Regions from separate parts of the Homo sapiens genome. Here regions 2, 3, 4, 5 and 6 are each linked to region 1. The links are contacts of gene promoters, found by promoter capture Hi-C in blood cells and fetal thymus (Javierre and others, 2016). All regions are on one chromosome and are shown on one strand. The core of a region is centred on a gene start or on the middle of the fragment in contact, and the rest is flanking DNA. Distances in the headings are between cores, read along the strand shown.

Region 1 (2,750 bases), core at 169-2,668:
TATTCTACATTAGATCTGTGGAAAATTCCGTTACTATTCCAATTGAAAGTCACTCTCACAGAGTTCCAGATTTTCAATGAGTGGAAACTGAAGGAGAGGGGAATTTAAGTGGAATAGGCTAAGACATCTTCACTATCTGTATCAGGGACGTTCCACTTTCTTTTATTGACTTCCCGTGTATTTTTTAAATAAAGGGAGAAGTACTTTTCATTGAAATAGTTTTAATTACAGTATTATATCTCCATGAATACTCCACTGTACAATTCCAGAAAAAAAGTCATTCACTAATATATGATGTCCTAAATTCTCAAATTATTTAAATGATTTATAGAACCTACCATCTTCACAGTGTTTTATTACAGAAAATAAAGTACATATAATTAAATAGTCATCACTGAATATTGATTTAAATCATGTTTTTGCAGAAGTGGATCCAGATTATGTGTCTTGAAGCTTAGAAGAATTTGACTTTTTAGATAAAATTACACATACAAGTTGAAAGATAAATGGGAATATTTATTTAGAATAGAAAATTAGCTTTAAATTGTAATTAGTAAACAAACCCATGGCCACAAACTATATAAAATTTATTAATATAGTATGTTAATTAATCAAATGCCAAATGCATCTCAGCATACAGGTGGCAAGAGTATCCTTAGAAGACATTCTTAAGTCAGAATAGGTAGTATTATTCAGTGATAAATATCATAGTGTCTGAATGATATAAACATATCCATTGAACATCAAATAAACTATTATTAACTCAATCCTTCTTTAGCTAGATCCCACAATGCTTGCAGAAATGTCAAGTCACTATGATATTAGTTGAAGTGTGATATACTAGAAGTTGGAATGAAAACAGAAAGCAGCCTTAATTGATCATGATTATTATATCTTACATTTGAAATTTTACAAAGATATATCATTTTTGCGTGCATTCGTAAGTCCCCACACAAGACCCTGGAAGTGCAAATGAGGGACCCCAAATCTTAACCTTCATTATCTTATTGCCATCTCTACCTCTGTCTTTGAGAATATCAAAATTACAGAAAAGTTTTACAACAAAAGTGGAAGTGAACAAAAGAAAATCATGATACCATTGTGCAGATGAAAAGAGCATAATCTTTTTGTAATAATACCTATATGGCTGTGTTATTAACCGATATACTTCAAATATTGATGAAACTATTTAATCTATGTTGTTTCAGTGCATGTATTTTACATGAATTCCTCTTTTAGGAAAGTAGAAAATTTTGCTTTATATTTCATTTCTGAATCAAATGTAGAAATAATGTTTCTATTATCTATTGTGAATAACAATCTATTCTGTCTACAAATATTATAATTTGTTTAAATAGCACTACATGGAACAGCTAATAACCCAACTGTTTCTTCCTAGAAGAGATAACTGGACTAAATGGGCCAACACAATCTAACAGTGCTAACTGAATTCATTCTGATGGAACTCACAAGGCGGCCTGAGCTGCAGATTCCCCTTTTTGGAGTCTTCCTCGTCATCTACCTAATCACAGTGGTGGGCAACCTAACTATGATCATTTTGACCAAACTGGACTCCCACTTACATACACCTATGTACTTTTCTATCAGACATTTGGCTTTTGTTGATCTTGGTAATTCTACTGTCATTTGTCCCAAGGTGCTGGCAAATTTTGTTGTGGATCGAAATACTATTTCCTATTATGCATGTGCTGCACAGCTGGCATTCTTCCTTATGTTCATTATCAGTGAATTTTTCATCCTGTCAGCCATGGCCTATGACCGCTATGTGGCCATTTGTAACCCTCTGCTCTATTATGTTATTATGTCTCAGCGACTGTGTCATGTACTGGTGGGCATTCAATATCTCTACAGCACATTTCAGGCTCTGATGTTCACTATTAAGATTTTTACATTGACCTTCTGTGGCTCTAATGTCATCAGTCATTTTTACTGTGATGATGTTCCTTTGCTACCTATGCTTTGCTCAAATGCACAGGAAATAGAATTGTTGAGCATACTATTTTCTGTATTTAATTTGATCTCCTCCTTTCTGATAGTCTTAGTGTCCTACATGTTGATTTTGTTAGCTATATGTCAAATGCATTCTGCAGAGGGCAGGAAAAAGGCTTTCTCCACATGTGGTTCCCATTTGACAGTGGTGGTTGTGTTCTATGGGTCTCTACTCTTCATGTACATGCAGCCCAATTCCACTCACTTCTTTGATACTGATAAAATGGCTTCTGTGTTTTACACTTTAGTAATCCCCATGCTTAACCCTTTGATTTACAGCTTAAGAAACGAAGAGGTGAAAAATGCCTTCTATAAGCTCTTTGAGAATTGATGTCAACTTTGTGTTTAATAATCAATTTGTAATATTGTTATAATAAATATATAATATAGATTAATGTCACTTGATAATTTTTCATGTGTATATAAATTTTCCAATTTTCAAATTTTTTTAATTGTTTTTTATTTCAATAATTTTTGGGAAGTAGGAGGTTTCTGGTTATGTGAATAAGTTCATTGGGGTAATTTCTGAGGTTTTGGTGCACTCATCACCTGAGCAGTGTACACTGTACTCAATGTGTAGCCTTTTATCCCTCGCCCACACTGCACACTTTTCCCTGTGTCCCCAAAATACATTATGTCATTCTTACCTATTTGTATCCTCATAGTTTAGCTCCCACTTATAAGTGAGAACATATGATATTTGGTTTTCCATTCCTGAGTTACTTCACTTAGAATAAAGG
Region 2 (2,750 bases), core at 183-2,682, 220 kb after region 1:
TCTAATCAAATTCCTCCTAAATCGAAGTGATGTCTTATATTGTCTAAATACCTTGACTATTTTCAAACAAGCAAAATGAGAATAACCACTGTCCTGCTGTAGTGCTGCATCTCATTCACACGCTTTGAGGTGATAACATAAGGCAGCACTTTGAGCACGTGATTAACCCTTCTGATTATCAATAGGCTTCTCAGTGTTTATGTCATTGGGTAGTTTTATTGCTTACATGAGATAAATAAATTGTCTTTAGCACTGTCATTGTCATAATATCTATTATGTAAATGAGGCAGTGACTCAAATATTTTTAATTCCCATCTTGGCCCTCTCAACATGAACTTTAGAGATTGATGCTTTGCTTGCTTTTTTTTGTTGTTGTTTTGTTTTTTACGTATTTCCAAGTCTATCCTTCATGGTCAAAATCAAATTATTTGTACTTCAAAGTCAAGTTAAAAATTTTTATAATTCTGTAAGTATTTTGAGACCTCAGAAGCAGTGTTTAACAGATTTTTCTGACTCAACACTTTGTATTATACTACCATAACAATAAATGCAACAATTGTTCTTTACTTATAAAATTTAATCAGTGATGATGCCATATATAGTAATGTTATTTAATTGCAAGTTAACATATAACTAAATGTTTTGCTGACTGTACTTGGTCAGTCCACTAATGTTTAATGAGCATTTCCAGGAAGCCAAGGAGTTCGATAAATGCCAGAAGTATTGAAACAAGTAGTTAACTAATTTTATCAGCTTAGTTTAGTATGTGAACAGGGTTTATGGAATTACACTAAGCTCTTTTCTGTCAAAAATATCCTCAGAGCTGGTATTTACTGACATTTGTTTTTATTTCGCTAAAGCTTCTGCTTTACAGTAAAAAAAAAATTAGCCGGCATATTTCATCACACCACTCTATTTACTCAGTCAAGAGACACAGCATACCGGTATCTATCAAATCCTGAAAACAAGAAGCAGATGTTCTAAAATTCTTATTCAAAGGAACACTCTATAAGTCAGTCCATTTTTAATAATATACATATTTTCTTTACTTAATGTGATCATCAGTCTGTTCATTAATTTATTACTTTTTTAATACTCTGGGCCAGTAATTGTTTAATATTTTGGGTGCAAAATGGTAAGCCAAATCAGACATGATCCATGCACATAGGAAGTCAACTGTTCAATGGAAGAAATAGTAATCAAATAAAATATAACCTGCAACCATGAAATATGATATTACTAAATTCTGAAATATATTTCTCAGAGTTTATAGTTCAAAAAAGTTTGAGCTTGCTTTCTTTATCTTATTGCCATTTATTTATTTTTAAACAATAAAATAACTTTATAATTACATCTAATTATTTTTCTTTTTTCATCATTATAGCATTGTAGGGTATTAGAAATTCTCATAAAAGGAAAACAACACAGAAGATGGAATTTACAGATAGAAACTACACGTTGGTCACTGAGTTTATTCTATTAGGTTTTCCAACTCGCCCTGAACTGCAGATTGTCCTGTTCCTCATGTTTCTGACATTGTATGCTATAATTCTGATAGGGAACATTGGATTGATGCTGTTGATCAGGATTGATCCTCACCTTCAAACCCCCATGTATTTTTTCCTTAGCAACCTATCATTTGTAGACCTTTGCTATTTCTCAGACATTGTTCCCAAAATGCTGGTCAATTTCCTCTCGGAGAACAAATCTATTTCCTATTATGGGTGTGCCCTGCAGTTTTATTTTTTCTGTACTTTTGCAGATACAGAATCCTTCATCCTGGCCGCCATGGCCTATGATCGCTATGTCGCCATCTGTAACCCTTTATTGTACACAGTTGTGATGTCTAGGGGCATCTGTATGCGGTTGATTGTCTTGTCATACCTTGGAGGCAACATGAGTTCCCTGGTTCACACATCCTTTGCCTTTATTCTGAAATATTGTGACAAAAATGTTATTAATCATTTTTTCTGTGACCTCCCTCCCCTGCTTAAACTATCCTGCACTGACACAACAATTAATGAGTGGCTCCTCTCCACATACGGCAGCTCAGTGGAAATCATTTGTTTTATCATCATCATCATCTCCTACTTTTTCATTCTTCTCTCAGTCTTAAAGATCCGCTCTTTCAGTGGGAGGAAGAAGACCTTTTCTACATGCGCCTCTCACCTGACTTCAGTGACGATCTACCAAGGGACTCTCCTCTTTATTTACTCACGGCCCAGCTACCTGTATTCTCCAAACACTGATAAAATTATCTCAGTGTTCTACACCATTTTCATTCCAGTGCTGAATCCGTTGATTTATAGTTTGAGAAATAAAGATGTAAAGGATGCAGCTGAGAAAGTTCTAAGATCAAAGGTAGATTCTTCATGAGATAAAGCATCTCAAGATACATCTAATTTCTCAATCACATACTGTAATTGGGAACTTACAACAACCTTACCTGTACACACACACAACCTCTCACACTAGGGATTTTATCAAGCACTTTGTTTAATGCAGCCAAATGAATTTCATAGTCCTAAAATATTTTTAAAATCATTTAAAAGTTTCAAAGTTCCTGCTAAATGCTAGTTATACTACTTTTCAGTTATTACTAGCTTGAGATTTATGCTAAAATCAATTTCATCAAGCCATCTTAAGGGATATAGTAAATATTTCAGAAAAGTATGCATGCATGTACATGTGCGTATCTATCTGTAGAATATCTCAGTTATAAGTGTAGATTACTGGATAACTGGATAAGA
Region 3 (2,750 bases), core at 102-2,601, 220 kb before region 1:
CACGTGGGATATTGTAAATACAGCTTCAGAATCCTGAACTGGGGATGGACGGGGAGAGGAGTTAACTTTTGTCTGTGCTCTGCACATAACTAATTATATATCTTGATGATGACTTTTTATGCATTCTTCATTTGAGAAATAGGAAAATTGGTATAAAATATTATGCAAGAAAATTAATAATTTTAATATATTTTCCACTTGAAAAATAAGAGAAGTGTTGTAAATTCTTATAGTTACTTTTATACCTAACGTTCTAAGAGAAATTCTCTAGAAAATTGTATTACACAGCGAAAATATATGTATACATCACATATTGAGAAACAAGGATCCTGATAACTTATACTGGGAAAAAAATCATACCATGAAAGAAGTCCATTTTTCCTTACTCAAGTTACTTTCTTAATTTTATAAACACAAAACTCTAGTTTTTATTGATAATGATTTTCTTCAGAGCTTCTTTCACCTCCTTATTCTGGAGGCTATAGATTAAGGGATTCAACATGGGAATGATCACTGTGTAGAAGACAGAGGCCATCTTGTCTGTGTCCAGGGCATGGCTAGAGCTAGGCTGTAAGTACATAAAAATGAGGGTCCCATAGAATATGGTGACTGCCAGCATGTGAGAGCCACACGTCGAGAAAGCCTTCTGTCTTCCCTCAGCTGAATGCATCCTCAGGATGGCAGAAATGATGAACATGTAGGAGACAAAGACAATCAGAAGGGAGGAAATGAACATGATACCAGCACAGGCAAAGATCCAGAGCTGTTTGAAGCGAGTGTCTGAGCAAGTTAGCCTGAGGAGAGGCATGTCATCACAATAGAAATGGTTGACAATGTTGGAGTGGCAATAGGAGAGGCGGAAGGTGAGGATGGTGTGAAATAGTGCCATTAGGAAGCTATAGCTATAAGGAACTGCTACAAGTTGAATGCAGATTCCTGGAGTCATTACAACCATATACAATAGAGGGTTACAAATGGCCACATATCGGTCATAGGCCATGGAAGCCAGTAGCAAGGATTCTGATATCATGAAGGTGAGAAAGCAGCCCAGTTGAGTAGCACATGCATCAAAGGATATAACATTTTGTTTGTACAAGAAATTCCCAAGCATTTTGGGTGTAATGACAGAAGAGTAACAGAAATCCACAAAAGCTAGGTTGCTAAGAAAGAAGTACATTGGTGTGTTGAGACTTGTATCCGCTCTAATGAGTAGGATCAAACCCAAGTTGCCTACCACTGTGAAGAGGTAGATGGATAAGAATAGCACAAAGAGGGGCATCTTCAACTCCTGATGGTCTGTGAGGCCCACAAGAATAAACTCTGTCGCCTGGGTGCAATTGATGTGAGCCATATCTTTTCTGGCCATCTAAATGTGGAAGTAGAGAAAAGAGTTAAGTCTAAGTCATATTTTAATACTGTAAATCCTATATGTGGTGTTTTTATATTTATTGTATTGTAAAGAGTTTAATTAATTAGATTTATTTATTAATTTATTTAACTAATATAATGATTGTTAGCATACTGGAATTCTGGAAATGTGATGGAGAGCAAAAAGAATATAACACCGTATAAACATCTTTATATCTAAAGCATGAACTTACATGAATGTAGGGAATGAATCCTCACATAATCTTATCCTGTAAATTAGAGTAAAATTGATATTTGCTTTCTAAGAGATTTGGAAGTTTATGTTTCTTTACATTCAGTTTATGTCTGCTTTTTTATCTTTTATTAAAAAACTGATTTAATTACATTTTTTGCATTAATTTTTGTTTTCCTACTCTATTTAATGTTGTGTATCATCATTTTCTTATTCATTTTGGATAATTTTAAAATTGAATTATTGAATACCCAAATAGTATCAAATATCATGTCTCTCAACTCCTCTTTCTTCTCTCTCCCACCATTATATCTAGTAATGGAAAATAGAGCTTTCCTTAAAAACTTATAAATTTCACGCTTTGAAAATTACTATGCAAATAAATATATAAATAAAATAAGAGCCTGTGTTTCTTCACTGTTCTTCAGAGTTTACTAATAGCTCTTGAGTATTTACTTCTGCTCAATTAATCAAAGAATCCATTTCAGTTATTTGTGTTTTGTATTAATAAACATATTTATTGAGCAACATAATGTGGTAAGTAGTAACTTTCAAAAAATACTTATTTACCTTAATTTTATTCTAAATAAATTATATTTATTATATGTATAAGATACATATTAGATATGCAATATGTAAGTATATACTAGATATCCTAAAACCCTAATACAGATGGAACATTAATGTCTAATTATAGCAACATGGAAATTGATGGATAAGGACATAGGAACCCATAAATTCCAAATCTCTAATTGCATGTTAAAAACTGAACGTCAATTTTGAGTTAAAATAGGAAAAAGAAAAGAGAAAAGGGAGGTAAGTAAAAAGAGAATTTTTGGTCTTTGCACTGCTCAGACCAAACCCTTCTCAAGAAGACTAACTTTCAGACTCAAACTTTTTTATGACAAACTATAGAAATAAATACTTGTTATAAGATGGCATGGAACTAATAGATATATTGAGAATAATACTTTTGCTTCCCTGACATCCGCTTGTATTACATATTCTTTCGTTTTCTAGCGTAATCTGTTCCATTCTATTTAATTCAAACAATGCTTCTTGGGATCCTAAAAAGTGGATTTAAGATCTACTAGTAGTTACAAGCACAGTTTCAAAACCTACACACTAGTCCCCACACACTGAACCATTT
Region 4 (2,750 bases), core at 108-2,607, 190 kb after region 1:
AAGGGATGCTGGTATTAGTGTTTTTATAATTAGCATAAATAATAGGAGAGAGACATAAATAGGGGGTGGCTATGGGTGAGTGAGTGCAGGCAAAGTGGCCCGAGAGGCTGCAGTGCAGGGAGGGTGCTGGTGGGCTGGCCTGTGTCTGCACAGGCTACTCTGCTGGATCAGTCTGCTGGTCAGCCGGGGGTCCACCAGCACAGGAGCTATGATGTGGCCCCCAGGAGGTACCTGGCTGGGGGCCAAGCTGGGACCCAGGAGAGGCCAGCAAACTGAGTGGTGCTGAAGTTAGAATAGCCTCATGTAGTGGGTGAGACTGCCGTGCAGAATTCAGGTCCCATAGTTCCCATAGGGCTAAAGCTTCCTACGGGAGCAGGTCAAGCCTGGGGGGATGGGCATCCCTGGCCATGCTCCACTACAGACACTTTCACACTAAACCCTCTGGATTCCACACAGGCTGGAGTTCTGCCCCTACCACTTGTCTAAGCATCTCTCCCTGCCAGTTCAAGTGTTACTTGTGGTCCAGGGGTTTTCTCCTGCTGGGATTCGGAGGCTCATGGAAAGAGAGGGTTGCTCCTTGCCCATTCAACTCATGCTTTTGCAGGAGTCACTGGGGGCCAGGAATGCTTCCTGTGTGTGGTACCCCCATGCAGAATTCCTTTCCTTCTGAAGATTTGCTAGGAGTGCACCAATCTTCCTGATGTCCTGGTCCCTCGTGGGCGATGTTCCTCTTGACTGCGTCTAGTGGGACGTCTTGGAGTGGTATATTACATTTTCAATCAGCTGGATACATTTCCCTGGTGCCTTATAGACAACACAGAATGAAATAAATGTATAGATAGATTTTCTCAGCAGAATTAACATGTTTTAATATCCACAAAAAAAGTTAACCTAGGAACAGAGGGTTCCACATCTGAAAAAGAATCTCACCGTTCAATATGTCGAAGACATCAAGCATATCATGTTCGTGTGATTAAACACATGATATATTTTTTAAAGGTCTAGTTAATTTGGATCTGGATAAATTATTGGAATAGAAGTAAGGCAGACAAATCCACACTAAGTATTAGGGGCCTCAAATACACAGTTGGAAAATTTTTAACTTTTTCCTGAAAGTAATACTAGACAACTAAATGGTATTTAATTAACTCCCCTCATGAGGAGATGAAGAGGAGGATAAGTTTACTTAAAGTAGTTTTGAAAAATGAATCAGAATGATTGACAAACAGAAGCAGCCTTCTAGAAATTAAACTGATACTCAAGAGAAGACACATCCCAGGTTGAGTCTGACTATTCCTATATAAGAGCTGTTGCTGTTTGAAACAAGCAAGCGTATTGCAAAATTACAGTTCCCGAGAAAAGGAAGAGCTTAAAAAGTCTGTACAGACAGCTTCATGCAAATCCCTAAAGGTAAGCCATAATTGGGTTGACAGACTATTTTATTTAAGAATAGTTACAAGTTTGTGGATAGAAATGCAACTAATAAAACAGAAAAGCATGAAATTTTGAGACCTTTATCTGAAAATTAATTATTTAACATTTAAATCATGTATCTCTTCACTACAAAGTTAAATAAAATTAGATGTCCAATAATGGTAAAATTGCATTAGTGATGAAAAGTCATTTAAGGCAATTTTGAAAACTAGTACTAATAGAAATGTATAAATATGAGATAGTATTTGTCTGATCACTTTCATTTATCAACGTATTAAGTCAAATGCATTGGCTGACCGGGCTAAAATAGGTATAGGTGCAGCAGATTTGAAGACACAGAAAAAAAGAATTTGTTTAGAAAGTTGGAGAACAAACGTTAAGCAAGTGTAATGGGAATTGACAAGCAGTGATTTCCTCATATTGGATGACATTGACATGAAGTGAAGCAAGACAGTGTGTTTTTGTTTTGTTTTGTTTAATTTTTTGGTCCCATTTATATGCTCTGGCCACTTAGATGGCCAGAGTAAATGTTAGCTGGGTTTAATCAAAGAATTTTACTTTAATAAGGCAACAGGATGAAGGGAAAATAGAGAGAAGGAATTGTATTTGGTTGAAAGGAACTGTATTTGGTTATATGACAATGGAGAAATTCACTTAGATAAAAAAAAGAAATGTAAAAAAAATTGTGATGAATTTCTACATCTTGATTAAGTTATAATTTAATTACTATTTAGCATTCACTGTATTCAGGGCAATAACAGGGGAAGTCAATAAACTGCCTACTGGTATTAGTGTTTTTATATTTAGCATAAATAATAGGAGAGAGACATGAAGTAGAGCAACAATAATGCATGTATTTAGTCTCTCAGTAACCAAGAAATTGTTTAAGATAATTGATTCTCACTGGTGCATAAAAGGAAAAGTTTAAAATTCATTTTGAGTATGAATTAATCGTAATATTCAAGGGCAACATTTTGAATTAAAAAAACTGGAATATGACTACCAATACAAAGAAAAATGATATTCTCAGATGAAATAGTAAAAGCCTACACTATAACTCTACTCTTAAGTGTGAAATAATAAGATGTTATTCCTCCATAATATTTTCTAAACAACAATGCATGCTTCTCAATGCCTCTGGTTGCATTATATCCCAGTATAATAAAATATATTGAGGTTTCATTTCTTAAATTGATTTTAATGCTAAATCAGTTTATTATCTAGAAACAGAGCAAGTACTGGTGAAAATGACTTAAGAGCTTAAGTAAGTATATTCCTGTATCTCATTTAGTTAACCCAAGAGGAAAATATTGTTC
Region 5 (2,750 bases), core at 93-2,592, 190 kb before region 1:
AATCTTATTTACATTTAATACCTAGTGCCTGCTGGGAAATATCTATTACTAATTTTCCGGTTATTTTTACTCTGTTTGAACTATATAAGCTTTTCATTTTAACTCTGCAACTCTAAGTTTGACATAATTTGCCTTATTTATAAATAGTAGCGGTTCCAGTATGATTTCGAAAATTGCTTAGGACATATATTACCTGAATATAGTATTTATTTATTCCATTGAGGTGGCAAAGAGTACAGGTTGCTCTAAGAGGACATGTTTTGTCCAGAAAAAGAGGAAAATCTAAGCAGATAGAGTATTTCTACTTTTTTTATGTTATAATTGGTTTGACAGAGTACTAAACAGATTATTGTACCCAACTATGCAACTGAGTATTAAGATATTAAATGGGAATTTTGAATCGATTGGTTAAAGTTCTCTTTAGAGCATCTTTTACTTCTTTGTTCCTTAGGCTGTAGATCAACGGATTCAGCATAGGAATCAACAGGGTATAAAACACTGAGGCCATTTTATCAATAGCCAAAGTATGACTGGACTTGGGTTGCAAGTAAATAAATAACAATGTCCCATAGAACATGATCACCACTGTCAGATGAGAGCTACAGGTGGAGAAGGCTTTGTACCTCCCTTTCCTTGAGTTCATTCTGAGAATGGCCACTAGAATAAACATGTAGGATATGAGAACAATTGAGAGGGAGAAGAGCAAATTACAGCCTGAGAAGATCAAAATTATTAATTCTAATTCATTTGTGTCAGAACAGAGTATGGACATCAGAGGGATACAGTCACAGTAAAAATAGCTGATTATGTTTGAGCCACAGAAGGACAGTTTAAATAACTTAATTGTGAGAAATAGTGACACAAACGTGCTATAGAGATAGGGAACAATTACCAGCACCCAAAGTACTTTCTCTGCCATGATGATCACGTACAGAAGAGGTTTACAGATGGCTACGTAGCGATCATAGGCCATTGCTGATAGAATAAAGAGCTCAGAGATGATGAAAATCTCAAAGAATGCTAGCTGAGTGGCATACCAATTGTAAGAAATTGTGTTTTTGTGCACTATGAAGTTTACTAACATCTTCGGGGCAATGACAGTGGAGTAACCAAGATCAGTGATTGACAAATGTCTAAGGAAAAAGTACATGGGGGTGTGTAGCTTGGAGTCCAAGTAGGTCAAGATAACCATGCCCAGATTGCCTATCACTGTGACCAGATATATGATGAGGAAGAGTCCAAACAGTGGAGCCTGCAGCCCAGGGTTGTCTGTAATCCCCATGAGAATAAATTCAGTCACCTTGGTCACTGCCGTGTGATTGTGTTTTACCACATGATTCATCTTGGTAACTGTGCAAACTAGAAAATCAATATTTATTATATTTGAAACATTATCTTCTAAGAAAATTAACAATTTGATGTATGAGCAATAGAGGTATTTCCTTTATTTCAAATTCTAAATAGAGTCTCCTCTTCCCATCAGGTCAAAACCACACAAAGCTACAGTCACATTCATTAAAACTGTGGTAAAGTATAATTAAAAGGGGCAAGATATTTTGAAGTTGTTGTTTTGATGTAGCTACTATGACCTACTTTTTGGACCCAGAGTCATTTTAATTATGTAAAAATAGCTACCACTTTTGTTTCTGCTTACCACAATTTTCAGGTAATTTGTAAAACAAACATCTATACATTAAACTTTACATTTTTGCTGATCATTGAAAGAAGCAAGACAAGATTTTCAAAACTATAGATGGAGTAATGAATAGGGCAGTAGGAAATCTCTGATCATTATATACATGTCAATACTTCTGTCTATAAATTCAACTTGTTTACCAAAAACAAAATTTTATGCCATAATTTGAGAATTTTGTTAATAATATCTTAATCTGCATTTGAACTTTTTGCCTATTGAATTGCTGCTTCTAGTGAGCAATTGGGGGGATGTATAATCCCCCAATTATACATCCTTCTGCAGGAAAAAAAAAATCTGGCTGTTCTTACAATTCATGAACATTTAAGAGAGAATCATAAAAAAGGGCTCAGTGGATAGAGAAACACAAATGAATATCAAGAACCTAAGCAAATCCATAGCATGCTAGGCAATTTTGCAAGTGCTTTACACATATTAACTCATATGATCTACACAATAACTTTAGGAAGTAGGCAGTAATATCATCCCCATTTAAAAGAAAAAGAAACTGAGGCACAAAGAGTTGGATAATTTAACAAAGATCTTTCACATTATAAGTTGTAGTGTAAGGATTCAAGTAAAGCCATTCTGCCTTCAGAATATGTTCTCATAAACACTCTAACACACCACTTCTCCATTAGGGATACCCTTCATTGTTAGGAAGTGAGAATGAGACAGGAAAGACACAAGGTAAATAATGATAAAGATCTTTGTTAAAATAGATGACTGAAGCATGAAGTAATTTGAAAGCTAAGGTGGCATAAATAATGACCAGCCTCGAGTATTGGAGACTGTATAACAGGTCTGTCTGCACATCTGTCCTATTGATGACAGAACAGTATATTGCAAGGGAGGCAACAGTTTTGCAGAGAATGGGACCCTTCCAGATTTTTGGTGACAACCTGCTTTAAGGATGTACCCTTAGAAATTTTCTAAGACCAATGTTTCCGCTTACCTCAATGGAGAATTTGCTTTGCTTTCTACTGCTTTAGGCCTCATAGGTGGCTACCGAATGGATTTAAATTTTTTCTCCTCCCTTGAGACTCATTGTGTTGAA
Region 6 (2,750 bases), core at 174-2,673, 150 kb before region 1:
TAATACAAATTAACATATGTATAATCGAATAAATATATATCTAAATATCCCCCAATAACCCACAGATTTAAAATATAGTAGAGCAGGAGATGGAGGGCATGATAACCTAAGATAATCATTATTAGTTAAAAAAAATCGTAAGCCCCAATGTTTTTTGAAAAAAGAAAAGAAAGAAAATAGTTTTTACAATGAAAATTATAGTGACAGCAATCTCAGAGTGAGCTATGAAAAAATAAAGACAAGCAATTGTGTTACATTAAATATAAAGATGATTACATATTATTTGAACTTAATTTTTTAAATAAAATTATGACCTACTCCTATCCTACCCTGACTCAATGAACACACCTTTCTCATATTAGATATATGGTAATGTGTGGCAGTAGATGGAAAAGTTAGATAAATATCTTTAGTAAATAAGATGATGAGCAGCATAAATCCTGTATTTTGTTTGCTTGTTTTGTACAGTTTGGCAATTTAGAAAGGCAAATAATATCATGGATAAGTACCTGTTTTCTTGTTAGGTAAGGAAATATAAATGAGGTTCCTTTCACCATCTTTGGAGTTCTGTGGAAAGAACCAGATTGCTTTTTTTCATATTTTGCTGTCTTTGTTGAATATCAATTGCATTTTTTAAAGCTACAATCTTTGAGAAAATAATATCTGCTTTTGTCAACTCTTAGTGGAAATTGAAGTACTTTCTGAAAATTGTATTGTTCCCTAAAACTGGGTACTTAACAGTCTCCTAATTTTATTTTCTTCTATTTTAAAATGTTTTTTTTTTCTGTGCCTATGATTACCCAAAAAGCCTCATAATTTTTAATAATGCTTTTCACATTCGAATGTAAGGTAGCAACCCCCTTTTTGACTCACCAAGCAGTGAGAAAACAATCATATCTACACATTTATTTGAATAATCATTCAGTGTTAAATTATTGTTAAGGGGTCTGAGAGCCTAGAGCATCTAAATAACAAGTATTTGGAAGGACATGAACATGACTGACCAAATAGTTGCAGTTTCTCCATTCTTTCATTAAAAATATATTTATCTCCTTGTCATTGTGCTTTATTTTCTCCAAGTTTTGGCCTCAATTAGAGAAAAATATGTAAAATGAATACTTTAGAAACAATATCATGATAATGTTTCAAAGATGCTTATAGCATTCAGCCTGTGAAACCATGTAAAATACTTAAAAAGCATATGAAAAATGGAGCACCGTTATTTCTGCTTAGGCATTATTGAGTAACAGAAATCCCGGAGAAATGAATCAGAAATTGTCACACTTTACTATGGTTATGTCATCAAATTAAAGTGGCAGTTTTCCAATGTCACTGAAGCATTATAGATATCTGTAACATATGACACCACAAGAAACATTCTTACTTTTTTTTTTTTTACCTGTAAGGAAGCCTCTGTCTTGACTCCTCCATGTGTCTCTCACATGGCACAGTGAGAACAATTTATGCATTTTTTAATCTTTTGAGACTCTCCCTGAGGAGATGGCAGGCAATTTATTGATAATTCCTAAAGCATTTGAGAGCATAACAAAATGTTTGAGGCTGTCCATTAGTTGTAGAAGACAGTTTGTATTCACTAGTGTATCAGAGTTCTCCAGAAAAACAGTACTAAGAAGAGATAGTTAGATGAGAGATGATAGATAGATAGATAGATGATAGATAGATAGATAGATAGATAGATAGATAGATAGATAATAGAGATTTATTATGAATTGTTTTATGCAATTATGTAGGCTGAGGATTCCTGTGATTTGCTGTCTGCAAACTTCAAGAAAGCTGGTGGTATAGATTCAGTTCAAACTTGAAATATTGGGAGCCAGGGGAGCCAAGGGTGTACATCATAGTCTGAATTCGAAGGCTCTGGAATCTGGGATGTCAATGTCTGATGGCAGGAAGCGAAGGATGTCCTAGCTTAAGCAGGGAGTGAACTCACCCTTCCTCTGTCTTTTTGTTTTATTCAAGGCCTCAATTGATTGCACTGATACCCACCTATATTGGTGAGGATGATAGTTACTCTGTCTAACAATCGTAGTCTCTTCCAGGAGTATCCTCACAGGCACACCCAGAAATAATGTTTGCCAGCTATCTGGGCATCATATAGCCTAGTTAAGTCAACACTTTAATCGTCATTACTCCACCCCTTGTCAGCTTGGCAAACATAAGCATGTACTTAAACCATACTTAGTCTCTCTAAACATAGACAATAACAAGGTCATAGTTTTGCTTTACATGACACAACTATCCGGCATATAAATAAAAACTCACTAATCCTTTATTCCAATCAGGACATATATTCTTTGAGTGATACTGACTCTTCTCCTGATTTTCTCAGAGTAAAATTCTACAGTGTAAAAGTAACAATATTTAAATATTGATGTAAAGTCCATATATCATATTTATATAATAAGGTAATAAAAAATGGAATAAAGCATCTTAATAAATACACAGACATATTTATAATAAAATTAGGATGGAATTCTCATTACAATTACAGTCCTCATTTCTGAACTGGCCACATGATTATAGCTGGTATTTATAACCGTCTTCTTCTTCTTTCCATACTCTATTCCTTTTGTCTTTAGCAAGCACCTTAGTTGGCCATGGTTCTTTTTTCCTTGTGAAGTGGCCCAAACCTTTATTCCTGAAGAATGTGGGCCATTAGTAGTTCTGGCTAGTTTGGGCTATTACAGTTTTCCGTATATTATTATTACAGTTTTTCTTATTAATAAAAG

Evidence for each region. Contacts are between HindIII fragments. The CHiCAGO score rates a contact against its expected background, and 5 or more counts as called.
Region 2: the fragment with the promoter of OR5I1 here is called in contact with the fragment with the promoter of OR8K5 in region 1 in 10 of 17 cell types (total CD8 T cells, neutrophils, megakaryocytes and 7 more); the score reaches 13.1 in total CD8 T cells.
Region 3: the fragment with the promoter of OR8U1 here is called in contact with the fragment with the promoter of OR8K5 in region 1 in 8 of 17 cell types (naive B cells, neutrophils, total B cells and 5 more); the score reaches 7.2 in naive B cells.
Region 4: the fragment with the promoter of OR10AG1 here is called in contact with the fragment with the promoter of OR8K5 in region 1 in 10 of 17 cell types (neutrophils, erythroblasts, naive CD8 T cells and 7 more); the score reaches 10.0 in neutrophils.
Region 5: the fragment with the promoter of OR8K1 here is called in contact with the fragment with the promoter of OR8K5 in region 1 in 8 of 17 cell types (neutrophils, non-activated CD4 T cells, naive CD8 T cells and 5 more); the score reaches 11.7 in neutrophils.
Region 6: a contact is called between the fragment with the promoter of OR8K3 here and the fragment with the promoter of OR8K5 in region 1, in 12 of 17 cell types (neutrophils, fetal thymus, non-activated CD4 T cells and 9 more). The highest score is 10.8, in neutrophils.

What each region holds. Positions count from the first base shown.
Region 1 is chr11:56,158,985-56,161,734 of GRCh38, reverse strand. OR8K5 (olfactory receptor family 8 subfamily K member 5) reads left to right here and starts at 1,418. Exons shown (of 1, transcript NM_001004058.2): 1 at 1,418-2,341. The coding sequence starts at 1,418. The coding sequence ends at 2,341. The HindIII fragment of the contact is 6,274 bases long and covers 456-2,750 here.
Region 2 is chr11:55,935,082-55,937,831 of GRCh38, reverse strand. OR5I1 (olfactory receptor family 5 subfamily I member 1) reads left to right here and starts at 1,432. Exons shown (of 1, transcript NM_006637.1): 1 at 1,432-2,376. The coding sequence starts at 1,432. The coding sequence ends at 2,376. The HindIII fragment of the contact is 3,136 bases long and covers 863-2,750 here.
Region 3 is chr11:56,374,225-56,376,974 of GRCh38, reverse strand. OR8U1 (olfactory receptor family 8 subfamily U member 1) reads right to left here and starts at 1,351. Exons shown (of 1, transcript NM_001005204.1): 1 at 422-1,351. The coding sequence starts at 1,351. The coding sequence ends at 422. The HindIII fragment of the contact is 6,958 bases long and covers 1-2,750 here.
Region 4 is chr11:55,968,552-55,971,301 of GRCh38, reverse strand. It overlaps OR10AG1 (olfactory receptor family 10 subfamily AG member 1), which reads left to right and starts at 1,357. Exons shown (of 2, transcript NM_001005491.2): 1 at 1,357-1,410. The coding sequence starts at 1,395. The HindIII fragment of the contact is 3,009 bases long and covers 363-2,750 here.
Region 5 is chr11:56,344,631-56,347,380 of GRCh38, reverse strand. OR8K1 (olfactory receptor family 8 subfamily K member 1) reads right to left here and starts at 1,342. Exons shown (of 1, transcript NM_001002907.1): 1 at 383-1,342. The coding sequence starts at 1,342. The coding sequence ends at 383. The HindIII fragment of the contact is 5,993 bases long and covers 92-2,750 here.
Region 6 is chr11:56,313,817-56,316,566 of GRCh38, reverse strand. It overlaps OR8K3 (olfactory receptor family 8 subfamily K member 3 (gene/pseudogene)), which reads right to left and starts at 1,423. Exons shown (of 3, transcript NM_001005202.2): 1 at 1,400-1,423; 2 at 510-567. The HindIII fragment of the contact is 10,208 bases long and covers 1-2,750 here.